3 separate regions of the Homo sapiens genome follow, and regions 1 and 3 are each linked to region 2. The links are contacts of gene promoters, found by promoter capture Hi-C in blood cells and fetal thymus (Javierre and others, 2016). All regions are on one chromosome and are shown on one strand. Each heading gives the region's core, a stretch centred on a gene start or on the middle of the fragment in contact. The rest is flanking DNA. Distances are from core to core; before and after follow the strand shown.

Region 1 (3,695 bases), core at 39-2,538, 550 kb after region 2:
TCAAACTCCTGACCTCGTGATCCGCCCACCTCGGCCTCCCAAAGTGCTGGGATTACAGGTGTGAGCCACCATGCCCAGCCAATCTGAGCTATTTAAAAACTAAAGGTAAAATTTTAAAAGGGGAAGGGGAAAATGGGAAGTCATTGTTTTAAGGGGACAGAGTTTCTGTTTGGGGTGAGAAAACTCTAGAAATAGTGGGGGCGTGGCACATGATTGGAATGAATGGCAGGGAACGGCACGCTTAAATGTTCCTGTACGTTTCACAGGAGAAGTCAATGCACACACAAGCGCCGCAACCCAGTCCAAGGCTTTGCTCCTACAGGGCCTTACAGGGGGTATTTGAGACGCCCACCTTAATGCAGGTTGGACCCAGCTCCGGGCTGCGGGGCTTCCCCGCCCCGGGGTCTTTCGTGTGAGCCCCGTGGCGGGGGATCCTGGCCCAGGACATGGCGCGGAGAAGGCTGTGGGCGGCGGGACAGGGTGCCTTCGGCTGCCGGGTTAAGAGTGGATCCCGGGATACATCCTCCAGCGCCTGCCCTCGGGCCTGTGTGCACCCCCATACCCAGCGGGGCCGTCCAAGAGCTTCAAGGAGGGCACAGCGCGACCCGCCCTCCCCTCAGCCCCGCACACCGTCCCACGGCCCCGCACAGCCTCCCTCCCACACAGCGCCCCACGGCACCCGCACAGCGCCCCACGGCCCCTTCATGGTCCCCGCACAGCGCCTCACAACCCGCACACAGCGCCTCACGGACCCTTTACGGCCCCCGCAGAGTCTCCCACACGGCGCCCCACACAGAGCCTCACGGACCCCGCACAGCGCCTCAAGGTCTCCGCACAGCCCCCAGCACAGCGCCTCACACAGCCCTTCGCACAGCCCCCCGCACAGCTCCTCACGGGCCCCACACAGCTGCCGCACAGCCCCGCACAAGCCCGCACAGCACCAGCAGACAGGTAGCCCCCACAGGCAACAGCGCCCACCTCGCCGCGCCCAGACCCCGGATCGCCGACGCGGACGCCAGGCGCCTGGGCACACGGCGCCTGCGCAGACAACACCACGCCCCAGGCCTGGCGAGCGCACCCTGCGGGTGGGGCGGACCTACGTCAGCAACCCATCGTCCGATCCCGTCCATTGGCTGAGAGGTAATGCGTGCGCCCGACTCGCCGCTGATTGGTCGGCGCGCGAGCAGCCGGGCTCGCACGGGCCAATCCTGTGGTAGCGCGTGAGGAGGCAGAGGCCTCTGGGGTGGGATCGCGGGCCGTAAGTGGCTGTGGAGCTGGGGTCACTGCGCGGTGGGACCATGGCCTCGGAGAAGCCGCTGGCGGCAGTCACTTGTACAGCGCCGGTCAACATCGCGGTCATCAAGTACTGTGAGTGCCGCGGGCCGGCCTGGGACGGGGATGGCCGGGAGCGAGGCCGGGTACGCGGGGGTCGCGCGCTGATTCGGCGGCGCGCTCCGTCCTGCCCTCCCAGGGCCTCGACAGACGGGGAAACTGAGGCTCAGGGAGGGGCGCGGCGGTGGTCGGGCGGGGCCGCGCGCTCCTTCGCGTGACAAGCTCGGCGCCACCCGTTCCCCCGCGACGGCTGCCGCCCCTGCAGGGTCGCCCGGCGCCTGCCCATTAGCGATTACCGAACTATCGAAATCATCAATCATCGATTCCCATGAATCGTAAGAATCCGCCGTGGTGGTGCGCGTTTGTGGCTCCAGCTACTCGGGAGGCTGAGGCGGGAGGATGGCCAGAGCCCGGGAGGTCGAGGCTGCAGTGAGCGGAAATCGCGCCACTGCTCCCCCAGCCCGAGACCCTGTGTCCCTCCCTCGCCCCGTTTCTCCCAGCGGTAACCTCCAAGGAGCGGTAATGGGGGGCCCGCAGGCCCACATCCGTGCCGGGGAGGCCGGTCCGCACCTGTGCGTTCACAGCCCCGCCCCTCCCCTCGCGCCGGGGTTACCTGGCCGCCACTGACCACTCATTTCTGTAACGTCATTTCAAAATGTTCTGAAACTGGAATCGCAGTTATGTGGCCCACCCAGTATCTTTTGAGTTTGGCTTATTTCATTCAGCATAGAATGTGGACGTGCCCCGGGATTGTATCAGTGCTTTGCCCCTCTGTTGCTGAGCCAGTCCGTGGAATCCATGGACCACCCTCTCTCTAGCCAAGGCCTCACCCCGCAAAGAGCATCTAACGTTTTCTTTCTTTCTTTCTTTTCTTTCCAGAAGCCGCCACCACGACTGGCTAATTTTTTTGTGTTTCCCTTACCAATAAAGCTGCCATAAAATGTTGTATACAGGTTTTTGTGTGAACATACATTTCCATTCTTCTGGGATAAATGCCCAGGAGTGCGGTTGCTGGGTCAGATGGTAGATATATATATATGCCTCTCTGTCTCTCTCTCTCTTTCTATGTATATATGTATGTTTGTGTGTGTGTATATATATATACACCTGTATAGATATATGTGTGTGTATATGTATACACCTATATAGATGTATGTGTGTGTATATATACATATATATATTATATATATACTTTTTTTTTTTAAAGAAACTGTCTAATTGTTTTTCAGAGTGGCTGGGCCATTTTGCATCCCTACGGTGATGCAGATTTTCCGCATCCTCACCAGCATTTGGTGGAGTTGCTGTTTTTCATTTTAGCCGCGTCCTGGTAGGGATGTGCTGGCAGGGTGCTGTGGTCCTCATTCGCGTTTCCCTGTTGGCCAGTGACGTGGAGCATCTTTCTTTGTGCTTATTTGCCATCTGTGGGTTTTCTTGGTGAAATCTCTCTTCATATTCTGTGTCCACGCTCGAACTGGATGGTTTGCTTTTTTACTATAAGTTTGGAGAGTTCATTACACATTCTAGGCTGGGCACGCTGGCTCAAGCCTGTAATCCCAGCACTTGGGGAGGCTGAGGTGGGCGGATCACCTGAGGTCAGGAGTTTGAGACCAGCTTGGCCAACATGGTGAAACCCCCGTCTCTACTGAAAAAAAATAAAATATGTATTCTAGATATTAGTCTCCTGTTGGACATGTGGTTTGCAGGTATTGTCTCCCAAACTAGCTAATCTTTTTGTCCTCTTAACAAAGAGCCAGTTTTTCATTTTAAAGAAGTTCAGTGTATCAATGTTGATGTCAAGTCTAAGACCTCTTTGCTTAGCCCTATGTCCTGAAGATTGTCTGCTTTCCTCCAAGTTGTACAGGATTGCCTTTTATATTTAAGTCTGTGATCCAAGGTTGTCCAGTTAGCCCAGAAAGGCTATCCTTCCTCTATTGAATTGCTTTTGCACTTTTGTAAAAAAAAAAATCAGCTGGGCATGTTTGTGTGGGTCTATTTCTGGATTTTCTCTTCTGCTATTTTTTTTTTTTTTTTTTTTTTTTTTGAGACAGAGTCTTGCTCTGTCACCCAGGCTGGAGTGCAGTGGCACAATCTTGGCTCACTGTAACCTCCGCCTCCTGGGTTCAAGCAATTCTCCTGCCTTAGTCTTCTGAGTATTTGGGACTACATGCACGTGCCACCACACTTGGCTAATTTTTGTATTTTTAGTAGAGATGGGGTTTCACCGTGTTAGCCAGGCTGGTCTGAAGCTCCTGACCTCGTGATCTGCCCACCTCAGCCTCCCAAAGTGCTGGGATTACAGGTGTGAGCCACCGCGTCTGGCCTTTTATTTTTATTTTTTATATTTATTTATTTTATATTTATAT
Region 2 (3,620 bases), core at 1,105-3,604:
TGCACTCATACACTATGTTGACATGAGGCTGGTTGGATACAGTGAACAGAAAATGAACACATTTTAGATAACTTCATATGAAATATACACAACAGAGAGCTTGTGATTCAGGGGCCATAGTTTCTACGAGTTCAGCAGTCTGGATTACATAAAGACATCCCCTCCGATATGCACCTCCAAGTTACTGCACCTCATGACACCTATAACCAAAAAAGAGGCACAACACTCTGCAGATCTTTTAATTTTAGGGGCAACGTATATAACAGCGTTAACGCTCTACACAGTTGCCTGTAAGGCTGCCAGTGCCAAGTGTGGATCAGTGCACATTCAGGGTGCAGGACAAGCTTCTTAGGCACTTGGTGGAAAGGACCCAGCAGACCCACTGACACAGCGTCCATGGTAAACAGGATGCCGCTGGATGCCTCTGGCAAGCACTGATAAGACTCAGAGCACAACCCTCTGGGATTTCAGAGTAAATCTACACCCTCTAAACGGTCATCTATGCAGCTGACCACTTACCTTTTCAGAAATAGGCTGGGGCTTGGAACCAGGACAGAGTAGAGAAGGAACAGCTAACATGGGACATGAGGTGACTAAGGCTGAACTCAGCCATCTGAGACCTCGTGGACCCAAAGGCATAAGGTGCTTACTATCCGCCCTTTGCCAACCTCTCCTCTGAATTCAATTACAAGTTCATAGGAAGCAGCAAGAAATGGAGGAATATTTAAACGTATCACGAGAAAACAACACCAAAGTCAATATGATAGAGAAACCACAGGGGTTGTTCTAGGTGAAAAGACATAAACGATGGGAACAGATAAACCTTGAAGGGCTCTTAGTCCCCAAAATACCCAACAGCGCAATGTTGGAAAAATGTTGAGAATCCTAGATATTACACAAAGTAGACAGTGGATGACCTCCTTCTTATTTTTTTATTTTTTTATTTTTTTGAGACGGAGTCTTGCTCTGTCGCCCAGGCTGGAGTGCAATGGCACGATCTTGGCTCACCGCAACCTGTGCCACCCAGGTTCAAGCGATTCTCCTGCCTCAGCCTCCCGACTAGCTGGGATTACAGGCATGCGCCACCATGCAAGGCTAATTTTGTACTTTTAGTAGAGACGGGATTTCTCCATGTTAGTCAGGCTGGTCTTGAACTCCCGACCTCAGATGATCCACCCGCCTCGGCCTCCCAAAGTGCTAGGATTACAGGCGTGAGCCACTGTGCCCAGCGGACCTTATTATTTTTAATTATTATTATTATTTTTTGAGACGGAGTCTCGCTCTGTCGCCCAGGCTGGAGTGCAGTGGCGCCATCTCGGCTCACTGCAAGCTCCGCCTCCCGGGTTCACGCCATTCTCCTGCCTCAGCCTCCAGAGTAGCTGGGACTACAGGAGCCCGCCACCACGCCCGGCTAATTTTTTGTATTTTTAGTAGAGATGGGGTTTCACCGTGTTAGCCAGGATGGTGTCGGTCTCCTGACCTCGTGATCCACCCGCCTCGGCCTCCCAAAGTGCTGGGATTACAGGCGTGAGCCACCGCGCCCGGCCTAATTTTAATTTTCTTAGATGAAATACTAATATTGTGGTTTCAGTAGGATAATGTCCTTACCCTTAACAGACGCTTTACCAAGTATTTAAAGGTTAAGTATCATGTGTGCAGTTTAATTTCAACTTACTTACACTCAAATAATAATTCACCGTAAGGTTTATTTATTGGGGGAGAGAGAAAACATGGCCCAAAGCTAAAAAGGAGTAAAACGATTGCAGTGGATATTCCTTGTAGCAGATGTTCACATTTTTATTAGATTCAGATTTTCTAAAGCAAAACGTGAGAAAAAATACAGTTAGTCGAAACACACTGTTCACCGTGGATTCGATTACTCCAAGACCAGCGGGACAACGGCCGCATCCCTCCCGCCCCGAGGGCCGGGCCTGGAAGTCCCGGCGGCGAGGGACGCGCGCTCCCGCTGGCCCCCACGGGCTAACTTTCACAGGGAGCTGCACGCCCGGGGCGCTCAGGGGTCTACCTTACGCTTCGGTCCCAACACAATGTGCCAGAAACAAATAAAAAACGTCAAAGCCGAAGCCAGATTCTCACAGAAACACGCCCTGTTCAAAGTGAAGGAAGCAAAGGGCCCCTCTCTCACCAGCTCCGCGGAATGGAAGCGCTGCCCGGGTCTACCGCGAGCGGCGGCGACTTTCCCTTCTGGAAGCGGTGCCGGGGGCGCAAGGCGCGAGGCAGGCGGGCGGGCGCCCACTCCCGGACCAGCTTCCCCGCGGACAGCCCGAGGACACGCGCGGAACTCTCCGGCGCCAGCACGCACCGCCGCAAGAACCGGATCAGCTGTAAGACAGGCGGAGGCGGGGCCGGCGCCGGAAGAGGGGCCGGCGCGTCTTTGGCGTCACTTCCGCCTCCAGCCTCCGGGCCGAAGCTTTGGCCTATGGTGCGGGGAGGTAGTAGTTTCTTCCGCGAGGGTGCGGGAGGGCCCCGGGGCGCCCTTGGGAACCGGGCTGGAGGCAGAGACAGGCCCGGAGGACCAGGCGGACGTAAGGATCAGGCCTCTGGACGCAACTGCGGAGCCGGAACAGACCAGGAGGGCGCGGTTGGGCGGGTACAGCCAGGAAGTGCTCGTCGCGAGCGCGGCCCGCGGTTCGGTCACAGCGAGAAGCCCGCGGGTGCTGGGAGTGCTCGGTCTTCTCTCGATCTCTGCAGGGAGTCACTGGCCCCGTTCCTTTTTATCTGTCTGAACATCACGCCGAACTTTTAACAGTTGATTCCACTGCATTTTCAATGTGGTATTTTTTTTTTCTGTAAATGTTCATCTATTTTTCGCTTCAAATATGCGTTTCTGTTACTTTTCTAATGTACCGTAGGAGCCAAGACCACCTATACTACGTTGCAAAATAGCACTGATACCAGGGGTTCTCCCAAGGTTCATTCAGAAATGTCACATGATTCCAGTAACAATACGAAAAGGTTTTTTTTTTGGAACCAGGCATATTGATCCTGGAGTTCACATGGAGGAACAAATGTCTCATAACGCAGACGACGCGGACAAACAAAAGCGCAATGCCCGACAGATGCGAAAACAGCCTCTGTCATTAAAACTGTGTGCTAGTGACACATGAACAGGAAACAAATGGAATATCCAGACATCAACCCAGTAACATGGAAATTTGGTTCATAAACATAATTTCAGAGCGGTGGAACAAACATGCAGTTTATAATGAAAGGTGCTAAGACAAATGGTTAGCCGTCTGAGAAATGATGAAATTAATTCTGGATCTCACAGGGATAAACTCCAAACGGATCAGGAGTCTAAATGTGAAAAACAAAACAAAACCACATGTGAAGTGTTCACGTGATTTCGTGGCTGATTAAGAAACAAGATGTGCCCAGGAGGTGGCGGTGGCGCACAAGCTTTGACAGGTTGGAGGGTGAGGGAGTCTCACGCACCATGAGATTACCCACAGGCTTCGAATTGGGGGTCACTACTCAGAAAAGAGAAAAAAATGAGCGTGGGCGGGGGGCGCGCAGAGAACTCCCAGAGAAGAAGGAGATCAGACAGGGGGAGGGCTGACGTGACTAGATCACGTTTCTCAGCAGCCTGACAGGTGTCT
Region 3 (3,631 bases), core at 858-3,357, 530 kb after region 2:
CCCTCCCCCAATCCCCACCCCCGAGGCTGCACCTGTGGGAAGGGGGACGCTGATGTTTCCCTCTGTGGGGCCTTCTTGGGTCCAGCCTGGACACCGCCCTGTGCATCACAGCTGAAGAGTGAGTCTGCAGCCGACTTGAGTGTCCCTGGGGGGCAAGTTGTTGCGGCAGCCCTGGGACCCCACCCCAAAGGTGCTCGCAGGCCCTCTAGGGCGTTCCCGGGATGAGATCAGCCATTCTCCTCGGGAGGGCTACAGCAGCCCTGAGTAACACCAGGCTCTAGCTGGGATTAGGAGATAAGCTTGCTGGGGCTTGGCGGGTGGCCACACAACGGGTAGGTGGGCGGGGAGGGACGGTGTGGGTGGAGGCTTGGCTCAGGTATCTGCAAGCGTTATCTGTGTCTGCGAGGGAGAGAGAGAAGGAAGGGAGGCTATAAATAGAAACCTTTCCAGGCGAGGAACAGGTGAATAAGCAGAAGGCAGGCATGTGTCCTCTGAAATCTACACTCCCGGCGTGGTGGTGCCAGGCCATGCTTGCAGGAGAGGCGGGCACCTTCTTCCAGGGGCACCTCCACCTGTCCTTCCACTCCCCCTCACCAAGTGGCAGACAAGCTGGAGTGTGGCTGGGTCCCAATCCCACTGTGTCCTAACCTCTCACAGCCTTGGTCTTCTTTTTTGTTTTTTTTTAATTTTTTGAGACAGGGTCTTGCTCTGTTGTCCAGACTGGAGTGCAGTGGGGTCATCATAGCTCACAGCAGCCTCCACCTCCTGGAGGCTACTGCAACAAGCAATCCTCCCTCCTCAGCGTCCTGAGTAGCTGGGACTGAAGATGGGTGTTGCCACGCCTGGCTAATTAAAATAATTTTTTTTTTTTTTTTTGTAGAGACGGGGTCTCATGTTGTTTTTCAGGCTGGTCTCAAACTCCTGGGCTCAAGCAGTCCTCTTGTCTCAGCCTCCCACAGTGCTGGGATTACAGGCGTGAGCTGCTGAGCCCAGACTCACAGCCTAGTTTTTTTTCATTGGCAAAGTGGGGCTGATACTAGCCCAGCTTTTCACACCCTGGACGTGTGATGTGGGACGTGGGATGCTGGTGTGGCACGGCCCTCCTCCCTGCTGTCTGTCCCTCAGAGCTTCCATGGACTCACCACCCCCCACCTTCTCCACCCCCGGCCCACAGGGGGCAAAGGCCACCCAGCTCTGAGGTGGAAGCCCTGCTGGGGAGGCAGGCCGGCGGCACAGCCAGGGACACCCTGTGTGCACGCCAGCCCAGAGACGGCCCCACCTGGCCCCCAACGTTATGAAATGTCCATGTCAAAAGAGACCCAGACACTGGACACAGCGGCTCCCAGCTTTTTATGACCCTGAGGGCTCTACAGGACCACAAAGGAGGGAAACGGATTGCCCAGGTCACACGTGCAGCTGTTGCAGAATTCACGTGATTCACCGGTTTTATTAAACTTCCCATAACCATGTCTGACCCCCTGGGAATTCCAGAATTCCAGGCCAAGTCCTCCGTCCCCCAAAAAACAGCTTTCTGGAGGCACTGGACAAACTCCTAAAGGGCTGACTCCAGTGGGGGAAGCCTTCGGAGACTGCAGCCCATCCAGAAAGGACCACTGTCTCCAGGCCACCGGTCCCGGGCCTGTTCCAGAGCCGCCAGTAGGGCTGGTCACTAGGGTCAGCTTCGTTTCGCCTGGGCTCTCCCCATCAATCCTGTCCTGTGAGTTTGCAGAAGGGATGGGGAGGCGAGGCCAGGCCGCAGAGTGAGCGTCATTCTCCGCAGCAAGGGTTCTCCAAGGACCGCGCTCGGCCGACGCTTCCACATTCTGTGGAAGAGATTCTCGCTCGGTTTCCACACAGCTTTGAACTCTGCCCTTCACTCACGGCGAGTGGGTGGCCAGGCCCGACGGGTCGGTGTGTGACTCGGCGGCGCGCACGCCAGAGAATTCCCGTGGGGAGGACACCGGCGGCCACGCGCTCCCCGCCCCGTCCCGCCCGCGCACCTGTCCTGGGCGTGTTGCCCGAGACCCCGCCTCGCCCTCAGTTCCGCCCCCGTGGCCCCGCCCCACTCGCGCCGGGCGCTGGTTGGCGGAGGCGGCGCGCTATGCTAATGAGCCTGACCCCTTCAAGCGCCGGCGGACGCAGCAGTCCGGACCCAGGCGCGCCCCTCCCGCCCCAGCCCACCCCGGCCTGCCGCCCGGGAGGGGAACATGCCGCGCTCCTTCCTGGTGAAAACGCACTCCAGCCACAGGGTCCCCAACTACCGGCGGCTGGAGACGCAGAGAGGTACTGACTACCCGATCCCCGAGCCCCTGCCGGGACTCGACCCTGAGGGGCGGGAGAGAGAGAGAGGCCCCTGGGAGCGGGGGCTGGGGAGACACCTGTCCCAGGTGGGAGGAGAAGGAGCCAGCGCCTCTGCGCAGCGGCTGCGGCTGCAGGGAGGGAGGTGGCCCACGGGCGCCTCCACTTCAGGGCACTGAGCCCCGCCTCCGGCAGGGCGGGCGGGATTCTCTCCCAACTTGGAGAAGTTTTCTAAGTTTTCTAAGCCCCCAAGTCTCCCTGGAACTCACCCCTGATATACAGCCGCCCGTCCCAACCACTACAGCCCCAGCTAAAGGCACCCTGGAGTCATCTTCCTGGCGCACACGTTTGGGAGGGGTCGCGGGGTGGTGGGTGGGAGGGAAGGAGGGCCGTCTGGGGCGGCCCGGCTCAGGGACCCCCGGAGCATGCTGACTGGGGGTGTAAGCACAGGGGATGGTGAGAAGGACACATGGGCTCTTTCTGGTGCAAAGGCACTGCCCCTCCTGCATTCAGTTCAGGTGAGCCTCCGCCCGTGGTCTCCCTCCCTCCCCCACCTCCCTTCACCCCAGAAGCCCTCCTGCTCACCCCGGCAGGCTTGCCTGGGCAGGCTGGGCTAAAGGGCTGCAATCCTCCACACACCGGCTAGGCTGGGGAGATGGGTGCCCAGCAACCGGGCTGCCCGTTCATTCCCACTGCCTGCTAGGCTTAGGGACACGAGAGAAGAGGACTCTGTCCTTCAGAGGACAGCCTGCCACACGGGCGGTGAGAGCAGTCCCCACCTGGCTTGGCAGCTTCTTGGGACAAAGGCCCACTGAGGGGCGCCGGCGGACGCGGTGGTCGGGACTCACGCTCTGTGGCCGGTGGGGGAGAGCAGGAAGGGCGCTGTTGGGGCTGTGGCCCCCAGCAACACCGCCAAGAGGCCTTTATCCCAGCTCAGAACCCAGAGTTGGGGATGGGGGGGATCCCACCTGGACCCACACCCGAGGCCCGGGCTGCCACCAGGGGGTGCCAGCTAGGACCATGCTTTTCAAATGTGCATTTTGAAATCAGTTTCATCAGTCACCCCCAGCAATTTTGTAAAATAAAATAGAGCAGAAACTGCCGGAGTGCCTGGCTCATGGTGAAGGACACTGGCTTCTGTTATGTGTATGTGGATGCGCATGTGACTACACATGTGTGCGGAATTTACATGGGTAATAGTTGCAAGTTTCAAAGTGTTGCTTAGGGTCCATCCCAGTGTGCAAATCTGGGTAGCTGTGCTGGGCCCAGTGGGCAACTGTCGTGAGTAGCCGTGCTGCCCCGCAGTGCTCTCTGCTCCCCGCCCCCGCTCCCC

What was found. The method cuts DNA at HindIII sites, captures the fragments that hold promoters and counts their contacts. A CHiCAGO score of 5 or more calls a contact.
Region 1: a contact is called between the fragment with the promoter of MVD here and the fragment with the promoter of ZNF778 in region 2, in 1 of 17 cell types (erythroblasts). The highest score is 7.0, in erythroblasts.
Region 3: a contact is called between the fragment with the promoter of SNAI3 here and the fragment with the promoter of ZNF778 in region 2, in 4 of 17 cell types (erythroblasts, total B cells, naive CD4 T cells and 1 more). The highest score is 6.5, in erythroblasts.

What each region holds. Positions count from the first base shown.
Region 1 is chr16:88,660,684-88,664,378 of GRCh38, reverse strand. MVD (mevalonate diphosphate decarboxylase) reads left to right here and starts at 1,288. Exons shown (of 10, transcript NM_002461.3): 1 at 1,288-1,368. The coding sequence starts at 1,299. SNAI3-AS1 (SNAI3 antisense RNA 1) reads right to left here and starts at 1,006. Exons shown (of 4, transcript NR_024399.1): 1 at 979-1,006. RefSeq lists silencers at 624-783, 1,124-1,543 and an enhancer at 994-1,043. The HindIII fragment of the contact is 12,211 bases long and covers 1-3,695 here.
Region 2 is chr16:89,216,437-89,220,056 of GRCh38, reverse strand. It overlaps ZNF778 (zinc finger protein 778), which reads right to left and starts at 2,354. Exons shown (of 7, transcript NM_001201407.2): 1 at 2,147-2,354. It overlaps ZNF778-DT (ZNF778 divergent transcript), which reads left to right and starts at 2,404. Exons shown (of 1, transcript NR_186410.1): 1 at 2,404-3,620. RefSeq lists enhancers at 938-1,467, 1,468-1,998, 2,523-2,572, 3,522-3,620. The HindIII fragment of the contact is 2,087 bases long and covers 347-2,433 here.
Region 3 is chr16:88,684,983-88,688,613 of GRCh38, reverse strand. It overlaps SNAI3 (snail family transcriptional repressor 3), which reads left to right and starts at 2,107. Exons shown (of 3, transcript NM_178310.4): 1 at 2,107-2,283. The coding sequence starts at 2,208. SNAI3-AS1 (SNAI3 antisense RNA 1) reads right to left here. Exons shown (of 4, transcript NR_024399.1): 4 at 1,428-1,823. RefSeq lists silencers at 1,827-2,286, 2,337-2,496. The HindIII fragment of the contact is 8,177 bases long and covers 302-3,631 here.